Regions from separate parts of the Homo sapiens genome. Here regions 1, 3, 4, 5 and 6 are each linked to region 2. The links are contacts of gene promoters, found by promoter capture Hi-C in human tissues and cell types (Jung and others, 2019). All regions are on one chromosome and are shown on one strand. Each heading gives the region's core, a stretch centred on a gene start or on the middle of the fragment in contact. The rest is flanking DNA. Distances are from core to core; before and after follow the strand shown. Region 1 overlaps MEI1 (meiotic double-stranded break formation protein 1). Region 2 holds the start of SMDT1 (single-pass membrane protein with aspartate rich tail 1). Region 3 overlaps SERHL2 (serine hydrolase like 2). Region 4 has its middle 21 kb from the start of RRP7A. Region 5 holds the start of RRP7A (ribosomal RNA processing 7 homolog A). Region 6 has its middle 11 kb from the start of LINC01315.

The links. The method cuts DNA at HindIII sites, captures the fragments that hold promoters and counts their contacts. A contact is called where the count stands out against the background at its distance.
Region 1: a fragment that was not itself captured here is called in contact with the fragment with the promoter of SMDT1 in region 2 in 1 of the 25 tissues and cell types used here (pancreas).
Region 3: a fragment that was not itself captured here is called in contact with the fragment with the promoter of SMDT1 in region 2 in 1 of the 25 tissues and cell types used here (lymphoblastoid cells).
Region 4: a fragment that was not itself captured here is called in contact with the fragment with the promoter of SMDT1 in region 2 in 4 of the 25 tissues and cell types used here (bladder, dorsolateral prefrontal cortex, stomach and 1 more).
Region 5: the fragment with the promoter of RRP7A here is called in contact with the fragment with the promoter of SMDT1 in region 2 in 3 of the 25 tissues and cell types used here (dorsolateral prefrontal cortex, lymphoblastoid cells and spleen).
Region 6: a fragment that was not itself captured here is called in contact with the fragment with the promoter of SMDT1 in region 2 in 1 of the 25 tissues and cell types used here (spleen).

What each region holds. Positions count from the first base shown.
Region 1 is chr22:41,787,234-41,790,137 of GRCh38, reverse strand. The region is part of intron 26 of MEI1 (meiotic double-stranded break formation protein 1); the gene reads right to left. Among named protein-coding and RNA genes, the nearest start is that of CCDC134, 12 kb to the left of the region's middle. The HindIII fragment of the contact is 8,169 bases long and covers 1-2,904 here.
Region 2 is chr22:42,078,205-42,081,142 of GRCh38, reverse strand. SMDT1 (single-pass membrane protein with aspartate rich tail 1) reads right to left here and starts at 1,443. Exons shown (of 3, transcript NM_033318.5): 1 at 1,189-1,443. The coding sequence starts at 1,374. PHETA2 (PH domain containing endocytic trafficking adaptor 2) reads right to left here. Exons shown (of 3, transcript NM_001002034.3): 3 at 1,705-2,938. RefSeq lists an enhancer at 926-1,698 and a silencer at 1,724-2,018. The HindIII fragment of the contact is 9,212 bases long and covers 1-2,604 here.
Region 3 is chr22:42,565,690-42,568,505 of GRCh38, reverse strand. SERHL2 (serine hydrolase like 2) reads right to left here. Exons shown (of 12, transcript NM_014509.5): 9 at 2,168-2,202. Among named protein-coding and RNA genes, the nearest start is that of SERHL2, 13 kb to the right of the region's middle. The HindIII fragment of the contact is 5,729 bases long and covers 1-2,816 here.
Region 4 is chr22:42,496,991-42,500,055 of GRCh38, reverse strand. No RefSeq gene overlaps it. Among named protein-coding and RNA genes, the nearest start is that of RRP7A, 21 kb to the left of the region's middle. RefSeq lists silencers at 1-69, 979-1,273 and enhancers at 270-771, 857-1,377. The HindIII fragment of the contact is 5,441 bases long and covers 1-3,065 here.
Region 5 is chr22:42,518,546-42,521,702 of GRCh38, reverse strand. It overlaps RRP7A (ribosomal RNA processing 7 homolog A), which reads left to right and starts at 1,907. Exons shown (of 7, transcript NM_015703.5): 1 at 1,907-1,989. The coding sequence starts at 1,917. LOC124900479 (a long non-coding RNA gene) reads right to left here. Exons shown (of 3, transcript XR_007068117.1): 1 at 2,350-3,157. RefSeq lists enhancers at 706-1,000, 1,526-1,585 and silencers at 1,766-1,825, 1,846-2,015, 2,026-2,155. The HindIII fragment of the contact is 27,172 bases long and covers 1-3,157 here.
Region 6 is chr22:42,357,191-42,359,947 of GRCh38, reverse strand. No RefSeq gene overlaps it. Among named protein-coding and RNA genes, the nearest start is that of LINC01315, 11 kb to the left of the region's middle. The HindIII fragment of the contact is 3,994 bases long and covers 1-2,757 here.

The DNA.
Region 1 (2,904 bases), core at 254-2,753, 290 kb after region 2:
GCACTCCAGCCTGGACAACAGAATGAGAGTCTGTCTCAAAAAACAAAACAAAAAAACAAACAAACTAGTTTTAAACAACAAACTGGTTGAAGGGAATGAAGGAGGCTTAGCTATAGCCATGAGGTCCTGGGCAGTGACAGAGGGGACATTGTGGCTGAACAAAGAAGGCCAGGAAATTTCTCGAGAGTGTGACAGTGAGAGAAAAGAGGAAAAGCCTACTTGGTCCTGTTCACTAGGCAATTATAGGGCAGTCACTGTGAGGCTAAGACAGGCTCCTCAGCAATACCCTCCCATAAGCAGGGTAGGCCCAGCACCTTCTACAGGGGGAGTCATGAGCTTCTCAGGTTGGGTTCCCCTTCCCAGGGACTGTTGAGGACAGACAGTCAAAAACTACCAGAGAGACAAATACAGGATTCCACTTACATGAGGTCCCTACAGTAGTCAAATTCATAGAGATAGCAAGTAAAATGGTAGATGCCAGGGGCTGGGGGAGGGGACTGGGGAATTGTTTAATGGGTACAGAGTTTCAGTTTGGGAAGATGAAAAGATCTAGAGATGGATGATGGTGAAAGTTGCACAACAATGTGAATGTACTTAATGCCACTGACCCATATACTTAAAATGATTAAAATACTAAATTGTATGTTATATATAGTTTACTACAATTAAAACAAGGCCAGGTGCAGTGACTCACACCTGTAATCCTAGCACTTTGTGAGGCCAAAGCCAGAGGATTGCTTGAGCCCAGGAGGTCAAGACCAGCCTGGACAACATAGTGAGATATCATCTCTACGAAAGTATTTTATTTTTTATTTATTTATTTTTTGAGATGGAGTCTTGCTCTGTCACCCAGGCTGGAGTGCACTGGCATGATCTTGGCTCACTGCAACCTCCACCTCCCGGGTTCAAGTGATTCTCCTGCCTTGGCCTCCCAAGTAGCTGGGATTACAGGTGCGCGCCACCACGCCCGGCTAATTTTTTTGTATTTTTAGTAGAGATGAGGTTTCACCCTGTTGGCCAGGCTGGCCTCAAATTCCTGACAAGTGATCCGCCCGTCTTGGCTCCCAAAGTGCTGAGATTACAGGCATGAGCCACTGCGCCTGGCCTTACTACCAATACAAAAGTATTTTAAAATTAGCTGGGCATGGTGGTGTATACCCGTAGTCCCAGCTATTCAGGAGGTTGAGATGGGAGGATCACTTAAGCTCAGCAGGTTAAGGTGGCAGTGAGCCATGATCATGCCACTGTACTCTAGCTTGGGCGACAGCAAGACCCTATCTCAAAAATAAAAATAAACAGTTGCCAGAGGCAGAGTTGAATGTCACAGGCCAGGGAGACACCTAGGCTCTTGGGCATGAGAGGCGAATGGTGAAAGTGCTATACAATACTTCACTGGTGGCTGGGCACGTTGGCTCACACCTGTAATCCCAGCACTTTGGGAGGCCGAGGTGGGCAGATCACCTAAGGTTGGGAGTTTGAGACCAGCCTGGCCAACATGGTGAAACCCTGTCTCTACTAAAAATACAAAAATTAGCCAGGCATGGTGGCACACACCTGTAATCCCAACTACTCAGGAAGCTGAGGCAGAAGAATCGCTTAAACCCAGGAGGTGGAGGTTGCAGTGAGCTGGGATCATACCACTGCACTGCAGCCTGGGTGACAGAGCAAGACTATGTCTCAAAAAAAACAAAACAAAACCCACAAACCTCACTGGCACCCCACCCTAGTGTTTAGGCTATTGGTTTGAAGAAGGCTTTTTCATCACTCAAGGCCCAGTTCAAATGCTACCTCTCCTGTGCAGCCTTCCAATACAGGTTGAGGCTGGGCACGCCTGTAATCCCAGCACTTTGGGATGCCGAGGCAGGTGGATCACTTGAGGTCACGAGTTCGAGACCAGCCTGGCCAACATGGTGAAACCTCATGTCTACTAAAAATACAAAATTAGCCAGGCATTGTGGTGCGTACCTGTAGTCCCAGGTACTTGGGAGGCTGAGGCAGGAGAATCACTTAACTCAGGAGGCAGAGGTTGCAGTGAGCTGGGATTGCACCACTGCACTCCAGCCTGGGTGACAGAGCGAGACTCCATCTCAAAAACAAACAAAAAAACAAATACTGGTTGAGTATCTGTAATTAAAAATTTGAAATCTGAAATATCCCCATATCCAAAACTTTTGAGCACCAACATGATGCTCAAAGCAGATGCTCATTGGGCATTTCGGATTTTGGACTTTTGTATTAGGAATGCTCAACTGCTAATAGGTCATTTTGGTATTAGATGTAGTTATTTGTGTTTCCTATAATCTGTGAGTGCCTAAATGGCTGGGATCATGTAATGTTAATTTCTGTGGTTTTCATCCATTCAACAAACATTCCCAGATGCCAACTTTGTGCCAAGCTCTGTGCTGGGTATTGGGAAATCATTCCCCCCACACCTCCTGTTCTGAATCTTAAAACAGGAACATCAGCGCTTTTAGAAACATTAGGGAGAAAGCATTTCCCTAACTGGCCCTCCTCACCCAAGGAAGGTTTTATCTAGCAGGCAAGATACTAGCTTAAGATCTACTGTGCCATCAGGGCAGGATTAAGGTATTAAAGATTATGCTCCCATGAACTTAAACTCTTAAGATCCTGGCCAGCTGGCTAAGTGTCCATAATGCAAACACAGTTTTTCCCGCCTGTGGACCCCTGGTCTGGCAAGAAGGAGGGTGTTTTAAAAAGCTCATTTTGGACAGATATGATTAAGCAAGTATAATAAAATGTTATTAGTAGAATCTAGGTGTTGGGTGTATGAATGTTCACTGTAAAACTCTCTCATTGCTGTATGTTTGAAAAACTGCAGGAAAAAAAAAGCCCATTCTGTTCCAGAGTCCCAGCCAATATTCTACTATGATGTTTACCAGCAAT
Region 2 (2,938 bases), core at 194-2,693:
AAAATGGACGAAAAGTCCACTGGAAAGAAAAGTCTAAGGCACCCTAGACATCTAAAGTTAGGACACAGCCTGCTAATTACTTTAAATCCCTACAGGCAATCGGGTGCACCAGTACTAGGAGGGCCAGACTACGGTGAGCTCTGCCTGAACACGAAATACACGAAAACCGATGACAGAAAGATGTACAGTGAAGGGATATTCTACACAGTTCACTAAGTAACAGGTTCCCTGATGCCTGAGAAATTTGATTTAAAAATTTTAGAAACAGATGTATTTGAAAGTGGGCATGTATTTACACTCAAAGACTTTAGATGGATTGGGAGAATGTCAGTAAAATCTCAGCAACATTTCTCTCGTATTCCTAGAATTAAAAAAATTTTTTTTTCAACTGTTTTGATAAGGCAGGTCTTTCCCAACATGGACCTACAGTCAATTGTGTGAGTTAGCATAGGCTAGACTAGCTTTAAGAGAATTTGTTTTTTTAACTCCCACACCACACAGCCCTGCAGTCGTAAAGCAAACTTTCGCTTGATATAAGGGACTGTTTCCGTTTTCCCTAGAAAAACTCAAGCATGTGATAGCGTTCAGTGTTGGAAAAAGACAGGACCTGGTGGGGACGGTACCAGGAAGAAACCCGGATGCTGCGTCCTCAGCGCTGGCCTTGGATACGAGCTTCACCGCTCTAGCCCGATTCTTCATTTGAAAACCCGTGATTGTAATAATTCCCTGCACATCTATCAGGACTGTAAATCACATGAATTAAATATTAGGTGACAACTAATAAAAAGATGAGGCCCGTCCCACGTACCCTTTATTTACAGAGTCCTTTCAAAATTCATATTTCATCCCATAAACTAGGAGACAGGCAGGGCAGAGATTACAGGACTGCTCTAAGCTAGAAGCACACGGCCTAGTCTTCTGACTCCAGAGGAGCAGAGCACCGCACCTCTCAGGACAAGCTAATGTAAAAGGCCAACTTCCTCAGCGTTTGCCCCCCATCTTCTGTCTACCTACCATTTTCTACACACCTGTCAAAATTAGCAACTCATTAGCGTATTCTTGGTCCGCCTTCCAGTCTACGGTAATCGTTATGATTGGCCTTGGCTCCTATCAATCAGCGCCGCCCTCACGCACTCCCCACAATGATTGGCCTCAGCCCCTTCGCCCCGTCTCCAGGAGGACACTCACTTTCACCGGTTTGGGCAAAATGGCGCCGCTGCGGGTAACGATGACTGACCTCGACGGTACCAGGCTCCGGCCTGAGCCGCTCCATGCGGCGGAGACATCGCCATCTTTCCTCAAGCTAGGCCCGCTCCGGAGAGCCCCGGACCTGACGGGTGCCAATACTAGCCAGCGAGCCGCTCCGGACGCCATGCCCCCAGCTCCGCCCCTCACCCGGGCACCCGCACCCCACCGCCCAGCCCTCGTGCCGCCCTCGGGAAGAAAGCCGCCCGAAGCCTCGCGAGAGTTTGAGGAGTACACGAGAAGCCCAGCCCTCCCACTCGCGCAGTGCCGGCGGCTCCTGGGGCGGCGGGAGGGAGGTGTTTGTCACTGGCCGGCATGGTGGCGTCACGAGAGTGGCGGCGCAGCCCCGGCTCCCTCAGTCCGCGTCCTGCTGGGCGTGGCCGCGGTCTTGGGTCCGCCCGGCCGTCAGAACAGGCCTCAGCGGCCGGTTGTGGAAATAAACCCAGGGAGCGGAAGGAGTAATAACGAAAAAGCTTTACTAGTGTTTTAACCGTGTACAAAACACTGTAGCAATAAGAGAAAGGCCCGTGCTATCTGTGTTTAAACAAAATGCAGTGGCTGCGGGGCTTCCAGGCAGGGCTGGGGAACAGGCCGGGCGCCCGCCTTGGGCGCATCTCCGCCTCTTAGGGGTAAGAGGCTCAGAGCCTACCCCTTAGGCCTAGTTGGATGCGGGTCGGTCCTGCCCAAGGCCCCAGTGAGGGGAGCCGAGGCTAGGAAGGGGCAAGTTTTATGTGTTTGGGAGGGGGTGTCTCTTCCCGGCCTCTGCGTCTTCCCCCTGGAGCGTCAGTATGGTCAGGCTCTGGTGACCCAGCCGCTTTGCCTCCCGACTTTGGGAAGAGTAGCAAGGAGAGGTCCTGGCAAGTACACCCTGGGTGACAAACGGCTATGAGAGTTCCCAGGTGATTTCTCGAGCAGCTTCAGTTTACCGGAGCCCAGCCAGGAGAGAGAATTTTAGCACAGGAAACGCAATCCCGTGTCCAAGCTCCTAGAATACCCAGGACTGAGAACCAAAGCAACAGACTTTTCCCAGGGAGCCACACTGCCTCCCCACCTCTTCTTTAACCCCTCACTTGGCAGCTCCAGGAGTTGGCTGCTGAAGACAGAGTACAGGAGGGCATTTCGTTGACGTAAAAAAGCTACAAGCCCCTTCCGGGGCAAGGTCCAGCACCATCTGTTAACAGGGCAGCCAGGGAGAAAGGATGGGACCCCAGCACTCTGAGCAGAATAAATCTCTCTTCACTGGCCGAAGACCCTCTGCCTCAAAGGGCCCTACCCAGACTGCTGAGTGAGGATCCCATCCCCAATCTTCCCACCCCTCTCAGGAAGAGCTGGGTCCCAGAAACTCCTATGACACAATAAATCCACTTTCTCTGACAGTGTCAGAGCTTCAAGCCGATACTGCAGCCTACCTCGGATTTAAGTGCACAGGAGACTCCCCAGGTTGGAAATTATGGCTCTAGAGCCCGGTGTGTAGGCCAAAGGTATGGCAAGCCTGTGACAGTCTCGGGTGACATTCCCCACTTCCTTCATTTCATTAACATCCCCTGGGAGGGGGCAGTCAGGCCAGTGCAGTCAGGAGATTGGGGTCTTGCTCTGTGGCTGCTAAGTCTCCTTCCTTCTCTGGACCTCAGGAAATAAAGAGGATGGAAGGAATGGTCCCGCAGTCCCTTCCAGACACACGGGTGGATCTCGA
Region 3 (2,816 bases), core at 306-2,805, 490 kb before region 2:
AGACATGGTCCCTAAGGACAGGGAAGGGGGCATCTCCAAAAGCCAGATTGACTAGGATCTGGCAATAAATTCCTACCACGAAGGTCAGCACACACAAGGGACAAACCACCAGTGAGTGAGCCTTAGTGGGTAGGGAGGACCACCCAACAGCTGGTATTGTTCATCTAGAAAAACAATTACAATGGCTGGCTGCAGTGGCTCACACCTGTAATCCCAGTACTTTGGGAAACTGAGGCGGGAGGATAGCTTGAGCCCAGGCATTCAAGACCAGCCTGGGCAACATGGCAAGACCCTGTCTCTACAAAAGTAAAAAATTTAGCTGGGTGTGGTAGCGCACACCTGTAGTCCTAGCCACTCCGGAGGCTGAGGTGGGAAGATCACTTCAGCCCAGGAGGTTGAAGCTGTGTGAGCCATAATTGAGCCATGGCACTCCAGTCCGGGTGACAGAGGGAGACCCTGTCTCTACAATTCAAATAGACCGAACACTGTGGCTCATGCCTGTAATCCCAGCACTTTGGGAGGTCGAGGCAGGCAGATCACCTGAGGTCAGGAGTTCGAGACCAGCCTGGACAACATGGTGAAACCCCATCTCCACTAAAAACACAAAAATTAGCCAGGTGTGGTGGTGGGTGCCTGTAATCCCAGCTACTTGGGGGCTGAGACAGGAGAATCACTCGAACCTGGGAGGCAAAGGTTGCCGTGAGCTGAGATAGTGCCATTGCACTCCAGCCTTTGCAACAAGAGCGAGACTCTGTATCAATAATAATAATAATAATAATAATAAAATTAAAGAAAAATCGAACTTTTATTTTTTTTATTTATTTATTTTTTTTTTGACATGGAGTCTCGCTCTGTCGCCCAGGCCGGACTGCGAACTGCAGTGGCGCAATCTCGGCTCACTGCAAGCTCTGCTTCCCGGGTTCACGCCATTCTCCTGCCTCAGCCTCCCGAGTAGCTGGGACTACAGGCGCCTGCCACCGCGCCCGGCTAATTTTTTGCATTTTTAGTAGAGACGGGGTTTCACCTTGTTAGCCAGGATGGTCTCGATCTCCTGACCTTGTGATCCACCCGCCTCGGCCTCCCAAAGTGCTGGGACTACAGGCGTGAGCCACCGCGCCCGGCCGAAAAATCGAACTTTTAAAACACAAAAAAGAAAAAAAGAAAAGAAAATGAATCACTATCTGACACCATGCTCAAGAACAAATCCCACACGGATCAAAGACAAACACGTTAACATTCCCAGACCATTGGCTGACGCCCTGGTCCAAGCCTCATCTCTTGGCCTGGGCCTGGGCAGCAGCTCTCAGCGGTCTCCCTGCAGTTAGAGCGTCCCCACCTCTAATGACAGTGTCTCACATGTGTCCAATGTTCTACCATATTTTAACAATCACAAAATAGCACAGGCCATGAGCACCTGAAGCGACAGCACTGTGCGAGGCCACTCAACACACATGACCTCACCTAGTCTCGACAACAACCCTTCAAAGGCAGGCCCAGGGCTTGGCTCCCCTAGCCAAGCTGCTCATAAACCAGCTGAGCGAATGAAAGCACTTTCTTTTTGCACGTGAGACAACCAAGGCTCAGAGAGGGTAAGCACCTTGCCCAAGGTCCTACAGCCCCTCACTGGCAGAGATGGCCAAGTTTCTATTAATACAAGTGCTCCAGTGACACAGGCCTCCAGATGGGACGCTGTTTTTTGAGAACCTTTGTCATCCTGCCCCTCCCCTCTTTAATCTTCACAGCCTCTATCAGGAATCCCCCTCTCAACAGATGCACCGAGCTGACTTCGAGCTTTTCCCTGTGCAGCAGCCAGTGCCTGGGATGTCTCCCTCCTCTCCTCACCTCCATCGACTGTATTTAATGCCACTGAAGTGCATACTTACAAACGGTTAAATTGACAATCATTAAGTATTATGTTAGCTATATAATTTCTTTTGTTTTTTTTTTCTTGAGATGGAGTCTCGCTCTGTCGCCCAGGCTGCAGTGCAGTGGTGCTATCTCGGCTCAATGCAACCTCTGCCTCCCATTCAAGCGATTGTCCTGCCTCAGCCTCCTGAGTAGCTGGGATTACAGGCGTGAGCCACCACGCCTGGCCTGTAATTTTCAAAAACGACAAAGACGCTAACAGGCAAACCTTGGCGGGGGACCCGGAGGCAGTGGTACTCACCCAGGCGAGCCTCTGGTCTCTGTTCAGAACCAGACCTGGAGGCGGAAGCACAAAGACAGCAGCGTCAATGCTGTCCATCAGGGTCAGGGGACGCTCCGTGACTTTGCTGGAACCCTCCAGGCCTTTGCAGCCAGGGCCCATTTCTCCCACCTGCCCCCGACGTCCTCAGCTGCCCAGGACTCCCTGTCCTGGGGTCCAGCTGGAGCAGGGCTAGACCACAGCCACCTGGCCACAGACCTGTCAGCCCACATGGGCCCTCACCGGCCACCCCAAAGGGCCGGTGCAGAATGAGGGCGGGAGCTTAGGCTAATAGCCTCGTGGACGGTGGAGCTCTAGTCTCTGAGAAACTCATTCATTCCTTTAGTCACTAGGAAGAAGCAAATAAGTACCAATGGTGTCACTGGTTGTGGTGAGCTGAGATCGTGCCACTGCACTCCAGCCTAGGCGACAGAGCAAGACTCTGTCTCAAAAAATCAAACAAAAACCACTAAAAAACCATACATATATGATATACCAACAAGATTTTCTTGGTGGGGGGCCTAAACCACCTGATTCTCAAGTTCACGTGGAAAAATTACACAGGTAAGAATAGCAGGAGGTCAGGCACCTGTAATTCCAGCACTTTGGGAGGCCGAAGTGGGAGGATCAC
Region 4 (3,065 bases), core at 416-2,915, 420 kb before region 2:
GTTTCTCCATGTTGGTCAGGCTGGTCTCGAACTCTCAACATCCGGTGGTGAGCCCGCCTCGGCCTCCCAAAATGCTGGGATTACAGGTGTGAGCCACCCAACCCGGCCTGGTCAAACTAACTTTTAAGTATAAAAATAGCAGATTGTCAGGCCGGACGCAGTGGCTCACGCCTGTAATTCCAACACTTTGGAAGGCCAAAGCAGGCAGATCACTTGAGGTCAGGAGTTCAAGACCAGCCTGGTCAAAATGGCTAAACTGCGTCTCTACTGAAAATAGAAAAACAGCTGGGCGTGGTGGTGCACGCTTGCAATTTCAGCTACTCAGGAGGCTGAGGCAGGAGAATCGCTCGAACTTGGGGGATGGAGGTTGCAGTGGGCCCAGATCGCGGCAGTGCACTCCAGCCTGGGTGACAGAGTGAGTTAAAAAGAAAAAAAAAATAGCAGATTCTCACCAATGTGCAGGAACCCAGAGAATATTGTTCCCAAAGCCTTTCCTGAGGAATTACTAGAAAATAAGCTTCAGACAACCAACGAGACTAAAAAGACATTGACATTAGCCTGGTGTGAACATTAAAGATATATTTACATGGAGAACCAAGAGAAGATGAGGAGTAAAAAGGAGAGGATGGAGTGTAATGGTTACATTCGCCAACAACATAGACAAAGTACAGCTATAAATAGGGGGAGAAAATGGTGTGGGCATATCTTTAAAGTGTGTGTGTGTGTGTGTGTGTGTGTGTGTGTGTGTGTTTTGTTTTTTGTTTTTTGGCCAGGGACGGTGGCTCAGGCTTGTAGTCTCAGCACTTTGGGAGGCCAAGGCAGGTGGGTGGCTTGAGGTCAGGAGTTCGAGACCAGCCTGGCCGATGTGGCGCAACTTCATTGTAGGGAGACCCCCTGAAACTATTGCTATGGAATAAAAGATGAAATGCTCCTGATTATTGTAAATACAAAATTGCATGCAGGATTGTGTAAAGACAATGCCAGGTTGGACTGCCAGAATGAGCCAATAGCACGTGATGTGCTTCCCCCTGCAGAGAGCCTATGAATGGACTTGCAGTCAGGGAAGTTTCACATCACCAAGATTCGTATCCCAGCAAAGCAGATGTTCATAGCTCTGGGAATGGAATGCGACCCTTGTGGAGAGCCTATAAATGGACGCATAGGGGGTGCCTGTCCATATGGATAAGATAGGGCTATAAACGCCCTCATCTTGCCGTGGCTCTTCTAGGCCTCTTTAGGGTTAAGGCATACTCCCTTCTGAGAATTTCTGGTCTAACCGGTTGTCTAGCTTCCTGTTTCCATGGATTGTTTGTAACCAGCTTTTGTTGCAGTTTTTACTACTGATTAAAATCTTGCTAATCATAGGTTATGGAAAGACTGTGTTTCTGTTTTAAGGCTCTGTTAGAAATTACTGACGCACACACTATGTTGTAAATTCTTATCTCTGTATACTATACTTCTACATACAAATGTACTGTACTTCTACATACAAATGTTATGTTAAAGAATTGCTTCATCCCCATGTGACCATCTCACCTCATAATCAAATGACCCTAAATCCCTCACTAACCTACCCCCGACCTCACTAAACTTAATAATAAATGCTGGTATATCCCGTGCATTGTTGGCACTGAGGGACCAGAAGGCAGTGACCCCCCTGGACCCAGCTTTCACTATCTTGTGTGTGTCTATTATTTCTCAACCTGCCAATCCGCTTGGGAACAAAGAGAGAGCCCCGTTGCATTGCAGGCTGCTGGCCAGATCCTGCAATACTTCATCTCTACTAAAATACAAAAATTAGCCAGGTGTGGTGGTGGGCGCCTGTAATCCCAGTTACTTGGGAGGCTGGGGCAGGAGAATCACTTGAACCCAGGAGGTAGAGGTTGCAGTGAGCTGAGATCACACCATTGCACTCCAGCCTGGGTGACAGAGCAAGACTCCGTCTCAAAGAAAAAAAAAAGTAATAATAATACTAAAGTAAAATAAAATGTTTTGGAACTGTTTTTAGTGATCATATGGACTGGTAATGTTATATTTTTATTCTAAGAATGTTTTCGAACATGGGACAAAGCAATTAGTAATTATGTGATATTCAAATTCTATCATCCCCAGTGGCCAGAGAACTGAATTCTTGGTGTAGGGAAAAGGAGTTACAGATGTGAAATAGAAGAGAATGAGTAACATCTTGTCTCCTGAATTTGAATCAGAAGTATCAGTATGTTTCATGAGGCATCTTATCTTAAAAAAAATACACAAATTCACATATACATATACACACACACACAAACACCTTGTAGCTGTGTACTTAGAAAGAGTCTTAACAAAAACATAAAAAGCTTAATCTGATTAACACTCTAGATGCAATGATCAATTTACAGGAGGAAAAAATGAAACCTGTTAACCTATACCACAGGAATGTAACCAGCAAAATCCAGACTATGGGAAGCGATACAAATTAACCATCCCAAATTTTTCAATAAAAAATTGAGAGAGAATAAAGAGATGCAGGGGGAATCTATAGATTGAAAGAGACTCTTAAAAGCAGGCAGTACTAACTATAATATTTAGGGAGACTATATTAATTTTCTATGCTGTGCAACAAGTTACTACAAATTTAGCAGATTTTTTTCTTTTTTTTTGAGATGGAGCCTCATACTGTTGCCAGGCAGTGGTGCAATCCTGGCTCACTGCAAACTCTGCCTCCTGGGTTCAAGCGATTCTCCTGCCTCAGCCTCCCGAGTAGCTTGGAATGACAGGCATGCGCCACCACGTCCAGCTAATTTTGTATATTTAGTAGAGACGAGGTTTCACCATGTTAGCCAGGCTGATCTCGAACTCCCGACCTTAGGTGATCAGCCCGCCTTGGTCTCCTAAAGTGCTGGGATTGCAGGCGCAAGCCACTGCGCCCGGCCCTTTTTTTTTTTTTTTTTTTTTTTTAAGACAGAGTTTCACTCTTGTTGCCCAGGCTAGAGTGCAGTGGCAGGATCTCGGCCCACTGCAACCTCCGCCTTCTGGTTTTCACGCGATTCTTCTGCCTCAGCCTCCCGGGTAGCTGGGATTACAGG
Region 5 (3,157 bases), core at 658-3,157, 440 kb before region 2:
TCCTGGCCAATATGGCGAAGCTCTGTGTCTATCAAAAATAAGAAATTTAGCTGGTCATGGTGGTGCACACCTGTAATCCCAGCTACTCAGGAGGCTGATGCAGGAGAATTGCTTGAACCCAGGAGGCGGAGGTTGCAGTGAGCGGAGATCGCGCCACTGCACTCCAGCCTGGCGACACAGCGAGACTCCATCTCAAAAAAAAAAAAAAAAAAGTGATGTTGTGTGGCCAGTCCTGATATCCATCGAGATGGCTCCTTGAAGCGTGGAAGCAATACATGAGAGGGAGATAACAGAACGATGGTGGCAGGGCACTGAGAAGGAGCCAAAGGCCTCGGGGAGGGGGATGTGCAGGCACAGATTTATTATGCAACATCTGAGAAGCCAGATGACCGTATTTCTGGAGGGTTCACCAGAGACTGCTTTGACTAGTGGGGGGTCTAGGCATCAATGGGCAATCGGCATGGCCGTCCTCTGAGGCCAGGGTAGAAGAGGGCAAATAGGACTGGAGCCGGGCTCGGAAAGGTCAGCAGGAGATAGGATTCCAGAGAGCAGAGGTTCGGTTGATGTGACTGTCAGAACAGGAGCAAGGCCAGAGTGGCTGCCAGGGATCCTGGGCGCACAGGAGTCTCTGGTGAATGCTAGTAGACCACGGTATTCCCAGGGGCCACGGAAGCCCCAACACTGCTTGACTGCGCTAAGCAAAGAAAGATCAAAAACAAAAAACGAGCGAACAGGACAGTAATGGCAGCTGCTGATGGAAAATCCCAACCCCTCATCCAGTTTCCAGGCCTAAGCTAGGCCTCAGAACCAGAGGTCACTGACTGAAAGGGAGGCTGGGTCCCCTCCAGACCACAAATATTTGCAGTAGTAGGCTCCTAATCTTTCCCCAAAGGGGCCGACAGCATTTCCAAGAAGCAACTGTACACTGGGAAAAGAGAAATAGTAGATACATCAAGGGCTGGCGGGTACACAGTCTGAGAGGCCCTTTGGAGTCCAGAAAAGTGGAGTCCTTGGACTTCATTTCTCCCCTATCTACACTTGCTCCCTTGGCGATCACACCCTCTCATAACTTTCTTTTTTTTTCTCTTTCTTTTTTTTTTGAGACAGAGTCTCGCTCTGTTGCCCAGGCTGGATTGCAGTGGGGCGATCTTGGCTAACTGCAATCTCCGCCTCCTGGGTTCAAGCGATTCTCCTGCCTCAGCCTCCCGAGTAGCTGGAATTACAGGCATGCACTACCACGCCCGGCTACTTTTTGTACCTAGTAGACACGGGGTTTCACCATGTTGGCCAGGCTGGTCTGGAACTCCTGACCTCAAGTGATCCGCCCCCCTCGGCCTCCCAAATTGCTGGGATTACAGGCATGAATCACCGCACCCGGCTCCTCTCGTAACTGTCAATAACCTATCCATGGCCAGTCCCGTGTGTATTGCTCCAGGCCTGACATCTCTGATGTTCAGTCTGTTCAGTCTCATATCTAAGTGCCCACCTGACATGTCCCCTGAGTGGCCTAATGGGCATCTCACCACGGCTCACAGAGAACTGATCTACTCCATTTTCACCCCCAAGCAGGCCCCTCTCCTGCAGTCTTCCCATCTCAGTCAATGGCAACACCATCCTCTTAGTTGCTCAGACTGAAAACCTAGCAGCCATCCTGGATTTCTCTCACACTGCCTATTCAACGTGTGAATGCATGAGTGGAAAGCTGAGTTCGCACTCGTGACTGGCCGGGGTCAACTCTGACATTCGCTCCCACTTTCGCGCGCTGATTTATCTCTGAGCGGATGAAGGTTGGGCCATGGCGGGCGGGGCCGGGGAGGCGGGCTTGGAGTGAGGGGGCGGGGCAGGCGCCACGAAAACGCGCTCGCGCCGGCGCCGAACCGCAACTCCCGGCGGCCCCCGCGCTCCCGGGTGGCAAGATGGTGGCGCGCAGGAGGAAGTGCGCCGCGCGGGACCCGGAGGACCGTATCCCCAGCCCACTGGGCTACGCAGGTGAGGGGCTCCGGGACGCGAGACCGGGGGCGGTCAGGCATCGCCGGGAGGTGTTTGGGGGTTGGCGACGGCCGGGGGTCCCCAGGAGCGGCCGCACGGTTGGGTGTGAGCCCCGGTGGCCCGTGGCCCCAGGCTCCGCAGGTCTTGAGGCTCCGGGGTCCCGAGGACCCAGGCGGCGCCCTTCTGCCTGCTCACTCTCCCGGGGCGAGCCCAACTTGGTCCACGCTTCCCTTGGGTGAGCCCGCCTCTGTCCACACTCTCACCCAGGACAAACCCATTTCCGTCCACACCCGCTCGTCCAGGTGAGCCCATCCCCTTCTCATCGCCTCTGCTCCTAGTCCATCCCCCATCAGCTCTTACCTGGGCTGTTATAGGCCCTCCTACTCGGTTGCCCTCCTTCTCCTCTTGCCCCTGCTTCTGTTCTCCACCCACGTGCCAGAATGTTCTTTTAAGGACATTTAGATTCGATCATGTCTGCCGCGCCCACGATAGGCGCCACACCTACTGCATTCCCTCCAGTGGCTTTATCAGGTAGCTTCTAAAACAAAAACCAGACTTCTTAACCTGTGTGGGCCACGTGGTCTGGCTGGTGCCGACCTAAAGCTCTTTCTGTTCCTCTGAGGGAACATGCTTTTTCCCCCCTCTGGGTTTTTGCACGTGCTGTGCCGGTTTGTTGCACAGTGGCGTTCTGGCCTGAGCTTTAATGTTGCTTCCTCAAAGAGGCCATCCGTGATGGCCTATGGAAAGAAGACCTCTGCCACCCCATCACCCTGTAATGTTTCTTTCACAATTGATACAAGTTTGCTGTATGCTTGTTAATTGTCTTCTCCGTTATTGCAACTGAGCTTCCTGAGTTCAGGGACCGCAGCTCTACGCCAACCGGTACTGTGACGGAGGTGTGAGAAAAATAGAAGCAGTTCCTAGCTTTATGAGGATTACAGTCATGGGTGTGCCAGCGATTAACCAAAGAATCTCATCAATATAGCCTCCAGACTGTTAAGAGAAGCTGTGAAGGCACAGGCAGTGGGATCTGAGCTGGCAGGAGGGGCGGAGGTGATGCTAAGGCTCTCCTGAGGAAGCGAGGTTTGAGCTAAACCTGAGGTGAGCGGGAGGGAAGAGGGTGACACGCCAGGTAGAGAGGCCAGCATGTGTGAGGCCCTGGTGTACC
Region 6 (2,757 bases), core at 122-2,621, 280 kb before region 2:
TGGGCCTCAGTTGCCCCATCAGTGTACTCCTGATCACGTACATGCTTCCCCGCTGCAGTGTCCTGCCTCACAAAGAGGGAGAGACTTAAGCCTGGAAGGCCCCAGGGGAAGAGAAGTCTGCCAGGAACAGCATGGTGAGCAGGGGAAACAGAATGTGCCAAGACGTGGGGTCCTTCTCCTGAGCTGCACTTCTCCAGTCCCTCCCTCAGTGCAGGGAGGACCATGATGGGGTGGCCTGGCTGTCCCCAGCGGGGCCCAGGCCTGGGGTGTGCTTGGCTCTGCACTTGAGGGGCCACTCTGCTTTGGGCCTCACATACTGTTGGACACCACAGCCCCGGGAGACAGGGCCTTCCTCCAAGCTGCAGACGCCAGGCTGAGAGCAGCGAGGTAACCAACAGCTACACCAAACACGTGGCTGGTAAATGGCAGACAAAGGACTTGAACCCAGCCCTGCCTGGCCCTGATTCCTGCTGTCCTTTAGCAAGACTGAGCCACATCCTCTGGGAGGGCCAGGTCTGGGAAGAGGCAGTAGAGTGCAGGTGAAATGCCTGCTCGCCACGGGCTCCCGAGCCGTGGTCCCCACTCCATCCCTCCCCTGGGCTGCCCTGATCACGGCCAATTCCTCCTTTGGGGAAGGTGAGTTGGGTCCCTGGAAGGCCCTCTGAGCCTCTCCTCTTGGCCGCAGCTTCTCTGAGGACTCGGGATGCTCCTGGAATATTCTAGGTTTATTAACACCCTAAAGCCTCACAACCATCCCTTGAGTAAGGGACCGTTGTAACCCTGTTTTACAGCTGGAGGAACTAAGGCTCAGAAAGGAGCTACCCAGGGGAGGCATACTGGCTTACTGGGGTGTCCTGCTGTGCTCAAGCTCTGAAGACTGTTTTGGGGACAGAGTGCTCAGCCCTAGGGTGGGAGTTTCAGGAGGCCAATTCAGTCTCCACTGAGAAGAGTTTTCTTTCACGCATGCCCAAAGGTGGGGTCTTGGCAGGAGTGATCTTCCCATCACTAGAATTCAAACAACCTCTGCGTGTGGGATGAGGGGAGATTAAGGTCAGAGGTGCTGTTGGACTAAGGAGTCCGGGTATCTTTGACCTATCCAAGCCTCAGTTTCCTTATCTGTGAAATGGGGATTTTTTTTTTCTTATTTTTTTTTAATTCTAATTTTTTTTTTTGAAACGGAGTCTCACTGTGTTCCCCAGGCTGGGGTGCAGTGGTGTGATCTCGGCTCACTGCAAACTCCACCTCCGGGGATCAAGTGATTCTCCTGCCTCAGTCTCCTGAGTAGCTGGGATTACAGGCGCCCACCACCATACCCACCTAATTTTTTTTGTTTTGTTTTGTTTGTTTGTTTTTTGAGACAAACTCTCACTCTGTCGCCCAGGCTGGAGGGCAGTGGCGCAATCTCAGCTCACTGCAACCTCTGCCTCACAGTTTCAAGCGACTCTCCTGCCTCAGCCTCCCAAGTAGCTAGGATTACAGGCACCCGCCACTGCACCCAGCTAATTTTTGTATTTTTAGTAGAGACGGGGTTTCACCATGTTCGCCAGGCTGGTCTCAAACTCCTGACCTCAATTGATCTGCCCACCTCGGCCTCCCAAAGTGCTGAGATTACAGGCGTGAGCCACCACGCCAGGCCAAAATGCGGATATTAATACCCATCTGTCAGAGGCTCTGTAAAGCACCCAGCCTCTTTCTGGCCCAAAGAGTGCCCAGTAAGTGCCATTGTCACCTCCTGGGCCTCTGAGTGTCCCCTCTAATAGTCAGGCTCTCAGAGCAGAGTGGGAAGGGGCCACCTCCAACAGCCCTGCCTAGGAAGAGCAGCCCCATGGACCACCACTGCCTCCTTGTGTGTGGAGGGTGGTGTCCAGGCTGAGGGTCAACCAGCCCCAGACACCTGCCTCCTCTGTCCGCTGGGCTGGGCCGTGGCCAGCTCCTTGAGTAACTGGGAGGGCTACAGTGAGTTACTGGAGAGCAGGGCTCTAGCCCCCACCGATACTGGCCCCAGGAGGGGCAGGGCTCACTCAGAAACCTTGCTGCTCTCATTGCAACACCACCTAGCTAAGCGCAGAGCCTCCCTGCCCTGCAGAGCCTGCTGGCTCCCTAGCTAGGAAACGGCACCATGCCAGGACAGAACGGGATCTGTCCCGAGGCTCCTGTCCGTTGGTATTTGCCAGGCACCTACTCTGTGCCAGGGACTTTCCTTAATCATTCTTCAGGTACAGTCTCATTCACAGGAGAGAAAGCCAAGGTTCAGGGAGTGGAAGCAACTTGGCCAGAGTGATATGAGGGCCAGGGGCTCTAACCCAGGGCTGTGGGACTCTGAAGTCAGTAAGTCATTCTCTATCTAAATCTTGCCATCCCCCAGGCAGGCCAGGGGAAGGAGCACTGGCTTTGGAGCCCTGGAGTGTGAGAGGTGGACCCCAGGCTGGGCAGGAAGACAGACCCAGGCACAGTCCTGAGTCTGCCCTCACATGTTGCCACATTCTGTTCCCCCTGCTCACCATGCTCTTCCTGGCAGACTCAACCCTCGGTCTCGCCAGGTGTGAGTCGCTCTCTCTCTCTGTGAGGCAGGGCACTGCATGGGGAAAGGCACATGTCTGGGAGTCCCATAGGCCTGTTTTCAAATCCTGCTCTGTCACCCACTACTGAGCCTAGAGCACAGGATAAAAAGGGGAACAGCATGCAAACAGGGAACAGCATAGGCAAAGGCCAGAGGATAAGAGGGCCTTCGAGAACCACAGCGGCGATGAGCGGAGC